Linked DNA regions of Homo sapiens: region 2 is linked to region 1. Evidence: promoter capture Hi-C in 16 types of primary human blood cells and fetal thymus (Javierre and others, 2016). All regions are on one chromosome and are shown on one strand. The core of a region is centred on a gene start or on the middle of the fragment in contact, and the rest is flanking DNA. Distances in the headings are between cores, read along the strand shown.

Evidence for each region. Contacts are between HindIII fragments. The CHiCAGO score rates a contact against its expected background, and 5 or more counts as called.
Region 2: a contact is called between the fragment with the promoter of PLCE1-AS1 here and the fragment with the promoter of TBC1D12 in region 1, in 3 of 17 cell types (total B cells, naive B cells and neutrophils). The highest score is 5.9, in total B cells.

What each region holds. Positions count from the first base shown.
Region 1 is chr10:94,400,431-94,404,050 of GRCh38, reverse strand. TBC1D12 (TBC1 domain family member 12) reads right to left here and starts at 1,510. Exons shown (of 13, transcript NM_015188.2): 1 at 467-1,510. The coding sequence starts at 1,437. RefSeq lists enhancers at 3-302, 1,603-1,762 and silencers at 383-712, 783-1,272. The HindIII fragment of the contact is 10,631 bases long and covers 1-3,620 here.
Region 2 is chr10:94,284,826-94,288,680 of GRCh38, reverse strand. PLCE1-AS1 (PLCE1 antisense RNA 1) reads left to right here and starts at 1,611. Exons shown (of 4, transcript NR_033969.1): 1 at 1,611-1,840. PLCE1 (phospholipase C epsilon 1) reads right to left here. Exons shown (of 33, transcript NM_016341.4): 22 at 3,716-3,833. The HindIII fragment of the contact is 4,167 bases long and covers 1-3,855 here.

The DNA.
Region 1 (3,620 bases), core at 261-2,760:
GACTTCCTTCTCTCTTTCACAACCACACCCGTACACACATACCGCCTCCCCTCACCACCCCCCCAACAACCTAAATGTTTGTAGTAAAATTTTTAAAAATTGGAGACGGAGATGGTTATCTGCTTTTCCAGAAAAGGCAACTGCATATGTGGCACTAGACAGCTGGCCCAACCTGACTGCTCAGAAGCCAGGTATGAATGGCAGGTACAGCCTCCCGCGGACAAGGCAACAGAAAGACTCGCTGTCCACAGAGCTCACAACTTCTCCTATAGAAACACAAAGCCGACCCAGTTCCTCTTCCTCCAGTGACAAATCAAAGCTAAGTCCTGACGCGTGTGGGGCTGGCACGGAAGCGGCCGACCAAGCTCTCCGCTCCGGCTCCGGCTCCGGCTCCGACTCCCACCAAGACCCCGGCTCCGGCCCCGGCCCCGGACCCGCCCCGAGTCCCATGCAGCCTGCGCTGTACCTGGTGAAGAAGTCCGCGAAGCCGCCACTCCGTCGAGCCCGGGCCGAAGCCCCCGCAGGACCCTGCTCCGCGGCGGGCAAGGGCACCGGCGGCCCCGCCGGGGGCAGGTGATCGCGGGCGCTCTGACCGCGGCTCACCTGGAACGTGTTGCGAGAGTTGAAGTGAATGTCAGAAAAGCCCAGGCGCGGCTCCGCACCCCCATTAGTCCTCTCGGCCGAGGTGGCAGGGGGCGCGCCCTCCTCGGGACCCCCGGCGCCGACTCCCCGCTGCTCTGAGTCCTCGCTACTGCTGCAGCTGCTGGCGGGGCTGTCCCCCGAGTCGCTGCCCGCGCCCTCGGGCTCCTGGGCGTCCGCGGCCACCAGGCAGCAGCTCCGCAGCGGGTCCTCAAGCGGAGAGGCCCAATCGGACGGGCTTCCCGCGCCGTCCGCGTCCTCGTCGCCAGGCCCCTCCAGGCGAAGGCGGCCGTAGGGGCGGCGGCGGCGCGACTCCCGGCCGCCGGCGCGCGCCAGCCCGCGAGCCTCTTCCAGATCGCGACAGTCCCGGCCCGGCAGAAAACCCGAGTCGCCGTTGGTCATGCCTTCGTGCCGCGGCGCGCGGCCATCAGCCACCTCCGCGCCGCGGTGTTTGGAGCCCGAGCCCAGCAGGCAGGCGTCCGATCGTGGGGCTGCCGAGGGCGGCGGGGCGCCGGCCTGGCCAGCGGGGAGCGGACAGTAGCAGAGCCCCGGCTCCAGCTGCTCCCCGGCCGCCGCGAGGTAACGCTGAAGGAGCTGCCGAGGCGGCGTCTCCTCCTCCTCGTCAGCCTCCTCCTCCTCGTCAGCCTCCTCCGGCGGCTCCACAGCGCCGACGCCTCCGCCAAAGCCGCCCGTGGCCCGGATTACCTTCCTGTCCTGGCCCACGGGGTCCGGCGCAGGCACCGGGAGCAACTTGGGGTTTCTTCCCGAGCAGGCTCCGGCATCCTCCGGACCCACCATCTGGGGGTGGGTGGCGGCCGCCCCAGGAGGCAAAGAAGGACTACAGGCGCAGGCTTGGCCAGAGAACAGCTCTGGGTGCTGGGGCCGCGGCGACAGCCGCCGCAACGTTCCCAGACCCACCCCTCCCACCCGCTGGGTCGGACAGTTGCTTGAGGGCGGGCACGCGCCAGGACTCGCGCACGCGCAAAAGTCGGACCGGTCAAGCCCCGACCTGGAGATTCCCCGAACCATAGAGACGGTAGCTAGAGAGACGCAGGCTGCCAATCTAGGATCCGCCATCTGGATGGTGGAAGCTGGTTGGCCCGCTCTAAGCGTGACAGTTCTTACCGAAGCGCGGGTATTGCTCGCTTAGCAAAAATTCACTTGATGTATTTCATTTATGGTAGTAAAATACTCCCATATTTGGGAGGTGTTAGCGTGGGTAAGTCCTTCCAGCTCTAATTGGTCACCAGTCGACTTTACGATTTTTACATCCTTCTCCGGCATCATTGCCACAGTTCAGGGCTTCATCACTTCATCCAGGAGGGTCAACACCCTCCCTTCTTCACTTCATCTAACACAAAAGAAAGATATCCTAAGTTATCTTGCTCACCTAGCACCATGTTTCATCACAGTCCTCTGTTTAAAAGATTATCACCGGCCGGGCGCGGTGGCTCACGCCTGTAATCCCAGCACTTTGGGAGGCCGAGGCGGGTGGATCACAAGGTCAGGAGATGGAGACCATCCTGGCTAACACGGTGAAACCCTGTCTCTACTAAAAATACAAAAAAATTAGCTGGGCATGGTGGCGGGCGCTTGTAGTCCCAGCTACTCGGGAGGCTGAGGCAGGAGAATGGCGTGAACCCGGGAGGCGGAGCTTGCAGTGAACCGAGATCGCGCCACTGCACTCCAGCCTGGGCGACAGAGCGAGACTCCGTCTCAAACAAGAAAAAAAGATTATCACCTAAGGAGGGAGAGGAAGTGGTCAGGCAGAGAGGAGCTATTGAAATAATTCCAGCACTCTGCGATAGTGGATTAAAATGGGATGATTGACCATTGAGTGGAAATGAAGTATATTTAAAGTAAAAGACGAAAGACTTGATAACTGATCAGAAGTGACAGAAGAGAGAGTAACCAATGATTACTACAAAGATATGAGACTGAAACTGATATGGTTTGAAGAAATAGAAAAGTGGATAGGAAAAAAACGATTAATAGGGGAAATACATCTGGTAAAGTAAACGACTGAAAATATCCAGCATATAGAGTTCTAAAACTTGAGTTGGCTGGGCGCAGTGGCTCACGCCTATAATCCCAACACGTTGGGAGGCCGAGGCAGGTGGATCACCTGAGGTCAGGAGTTCGAGACCAGCCTGGCCAACATGGTGAAACCCAGTCCCTACTAAAAATACGAAAAATTAGCTGGGCATGGTGGTGGGCACCTGTAATCCCAGCTACTTGGGAGGCTGAGGCAGGAGAATCGCTTGAACCCGAGAGGCTGAAGTTGCAATGAGCCCAGATCGTACCACTGCACTCCAGCCTGGGCAACAAGAGGGAAACTGTTTCAAATAAATAAATAATAAAACTTGGGTTAGGGTTTAGGTTCAGAGACACAGATTAGGCGTCATCTGTATAATGCAAGTAGGTGGATGAATCATGAGTAACATTACCTAGGAAGAAAGAATAATGATAAGGGTCGGGCACAGACCCAAATGTTTCATTATTTCAGGACAAAAAAGTTGTATTGCAAGAAATTGAAGAGGCATCAGTTGTGGATAAAACGAAGCAGAAAATATAGACCACTCATTCTATAAAAGTATATAGAATATAGACCACTCATTCATTCTAAAAGTATGTTAGTGAATGCAAGAACAGAAAATAGAAGTCGTAGAGGAGACATTATTGTCAAGCATTTAAAATTTATTTCATATAAAAATACCTATACATACAGATATAAGAGGGAATATAACCTTTATATAATAAAATGTCAATAAAATGGGCATGCATGTACCTAACACTCAATTTAAAAAAACATCAAGAGGCCAGGCGTGGTGGCTCACATCTGTAATCCCAGCACTTTGGGAGCCAGAGGCAGGCAGATCACTTGAGGTCAGGAGTTCAAGACCAGCCTGGCCAATATAGTGAAATCCCATCTCTACTAAAAATAAAAGCATAAAATAAAATAAAATTAGCCGGGCGTGGTG
Region 2 (3,855 bases), core at 362-2,861, 120 kb after region 1:
GTGTGGTGGATCCAAAGGAGAATGAGGCAAAATCCCCCTCAGAATCAGACTTCCAGATCATCTGGCTCTACCTGCTCCTGAATTGCCTGCCTTAGAAACCCAGGGACCAGGACCTCCCAGTGCCTTCCAAATGTAAATCCCTGGTAGAGAGGCCTGAGACTGGGTATGTTAATCAAGTGGCCTGGGTGATTCTGGAGATTTCAGCAAGTGTAGTAAACAAGGATTCTAGTCAACTCCACTTTTGAGTGAGAAAGGCTCAGAGAGATTTGCCTTGGCCAAATCACAAAGCATGGTAGCCAAGAGCCCAGGTCTCTGACCCACGATCTTATCTGATGATCTTGTCACCACTGAATAATTTTTGTCTTACAGGGTTGTAATCTTTTAAGCTATGGGTATGTCAAGGCATACAGAGCAGCGTAATGGACATTGGAGACTCAGAATGAGAGTGGGAGGGAGGTGAGGGATGAAAAACTACCTGGTGGGTATGACTTACACGACTTGGGTGACAGGTGCGCTAAAATCCCAGACTTCATCACTATACAATTCATCCATGTAACCAAAAACTACTTGTACCACTAAAGCTGTCAAAATAAAAAAATTCAAAATAAAAGAACAAGGTTGCACTCCTAACTGTGGAACAACTGGGTATCTAGGAGGTACCCAAACATATGCCTATAAATGAAGGAGCTCCAGAAAGGAGATGTCACAATGAGTTGAAGAGTCTCAGATACTTTCCAAGGACCCCGTCCTTGGAATTTGGAATGGGGCCAAGGGGAGAAGGAAGGCCAGGCAAGGTTGAGAACACTCTGAGCAATGGCCTGGCACTAGAAAGACGGCAGTGTATGTAGGTGCCTGAGGAGAGTGGGGGATGCAGGGGAGCTTGTGGGAAGATATTGGAAACTAGGTTGATGGGGTCATAAAATAAAAATACCATATCCTTTTTTTTTTCTATTAGAAGGAGAAAAAAACCCAGGACAATAGAAGTACTAAATGCAACCGAGAAATAAACCCTAAGAGAAAGCAGGTCGAAAAAATTCAACTACTTCCATAGTGTGGTGCAAAGAGCCCACCCCTGGGAGCTGACAGGAATTCTGGCTCTTGCCCTGCCACTGACCTAGCTTCTGATGGTGGGGAAGTTCCTTCCTTTCTGTGGGCCTCATACCACATGATTGTTGAGTGCCTCATTGCAATGAAGGGTTTTTTTTTTTTTTTTGCATATGGCTTGTAAGAAGGGACTTGGGATGATGAAAGGTGACATACACTGAAATTGATAATGTAGCAAAATTAAAATAAACGGCATAGCAAAATGAACAGTTTATAGTATTTTCCTCATGTGCATCAAACAAATGATTGTAAAAAGAAATATTTAGAAGGTATTATAACAATCATTCTGGCAATCCAATTTAGCTATTTTGAGACAGGAAATAAAATCAGGGAAAAAATGTAAGAAATTTCATTTTTCTAAAGAGAAAATACACTATACCTATGAAGAAATGTATGCTATGTGAACACTTTTAAAAAACAACATACTTGGAATTTTTAAAATAAGCCGAACAACCACATGCTTAGAAGCTCTATCACATGACCTCCTGATCTTCCACGATTCTCTACTGGTACAGAGACTTTATCTTTCACACAGACTTCAAATATCTTTGGGAATTTGTGCTCCTTATTTACTGAGTGCTTGAGAAGAAAAGACAAAGCCAGTGGAATGGTCCGAGTGTGGCATCCGCTGCATTTATAAAGAATAAGAGCTGCAGTGGGTGTGATTCTTGGACAGAGTGGCGCTCATCCTTGTTCCTGCAATGAAGGACATGCCAGCCTCCAGGCTCTTTGACAGGTAAAGGGTTTTACTCCATCAGAAAAAGAGTTTTGCCAGTTGCAAATAATGGTCATATTGTACTTATATGCCATGAGGTCATGGTCTGTGAAATTAAACTTAAATGGCCAGGTTCCTGCATTTCTCTGAAATCTTTGCTGGCTACTTATTGATTCATATCCTCCTCAACAGGATTTGCTAGCAGACAAGCAGTAGCAGCTGCCAAAAGTTTAAAAACAGCTTATAGGAGAAAACTTACAATTAAAATGATTTTAATATCATGAAATATATGATTTTTATCATATCATTAAATAATATGATTTTTTTTACTCTGATGTGTGAAAAGCTCACTATTACCTAACTGTGATTTTAAAAATTTAATTATTATTTTTTAGAGATGAGGTCTTGCTATATATCTTGCCCAGGCTGGGCTTGAACTCCTAGACTCAAGCATTTCTCCTGCTCAGCCTCCCTGGTAGCTGGGATTACAGGCACGCACCACTACACCCAGTTTGCCTAATTTTTAAATAGCCCAATGCCTCTGGCCCATTTGTCAGGCACTGTGTGAGACCAGGTGCTTAAGATATGCTCTGGGAGGGACCTGAGTTCAGCCCATCTTGAAAAGATGAGGGCATTTTAGTGCCTCTCTCCAGGCCAAGTCTATAAATCCTGTTTACTAACATTTAGACTGATCCTCCTATCTCAGCCACTTTCCTGTTCTCAGAAATTATATTCAAGAGAATCCTTTTTCTTAGTATGAGGAGATGAATTTTTCTGAGTTCCATGTACTTAGGGACTTTCTTGTTTGTCTTCTACCCCCTGGTGCCCCATTTGTGGGACACATAATTGAGTACCTCATTGAAAACAGCCCGAAACAAGAGAGGCCAGGCAGTATAACGGGTAAGGGCAGGACTTTGGAGACAGACAGGCTTCAGAGCCATAGGTCTACCATTCATTAATTGAAAAGGACACTGTTTTTGGAAAGTGGTTCATCAGCCTGTCCACTGTACTTCTAAAAACGGTCAATTGGGGGAAATCTCTCCTTCCACTTCAACGCCATCCTTGGTCCTTGTGGTTTGGGTGGGGCCTTGCTACCCAGCTCAGAGTGGAGAATGTGACATGGGATCCAGACCATCAGAGCACTGCATCTCCTGGCCACAGTGATTGGTAAAGGACCCAATGAGAAACAATGACACTTCTGCGGGAAGTTCTGGAAGAGACTCTTACACTGAAGCTGAAACTGGAAGCATGTAGTGCTGGCCTGCTGTAGCCGTCTCGCAACCAGAAGGGAATAAAGGGGAGAAAGCCAACATGATGGAGGCGGAATGAGAAATGAGGAAAGAGAAAGCATGTACCTTGGTTAAGCTATACCTGAAACCTGTGTGTCTTCATTTTTAAGCACATGAGTCAATAAAGTTCCCTTTACTTAGGTCAATTTCTGCCACTTTCAAACAAAAGAATCTTGACTGATATACTCTGAAACTTGGGGCAAATTACTTCATCCCTCTCAGACTTTATTTTAAAATGGAGATAATACCGCCTACCTTGTAGAATCATTATGAACGGTAAAGGAGATGTACGTAAAATAGCACAAATCCTAGTACTTAAGTATTTAATACATTTAGCAATTAGAAATTATGAGTATTATAACTTTTATAATTATTAACTATTATAAAAAGACATTGTGTGACCTGAAAAATGAATACTTTATGGTATTTTTCTTCATGAGCATCAAGGCAAATTATAATAATAAAGATATTTAGGAGGTATTATAACAATGATTTCAGCAACACAATTTAGTTATTTTGAGAGTGTTCACAATGCCCAATTAAATAAATGGCATATTTTTAACCTTTGATATCTTTAAAAGTTATAGATGATATTGCCTAATCTTACCTGGAAATTTTACTGCTTGACAATAGATTACAAGGTCAGAAAGCTCTGGTGCAATCTGTCTGCTTTCCTTTTTATTCTGATCAAGATAAAATTCTTCTCCCAGTTCCATATCATAAACCTGGTAAGGGAAAAATGATACC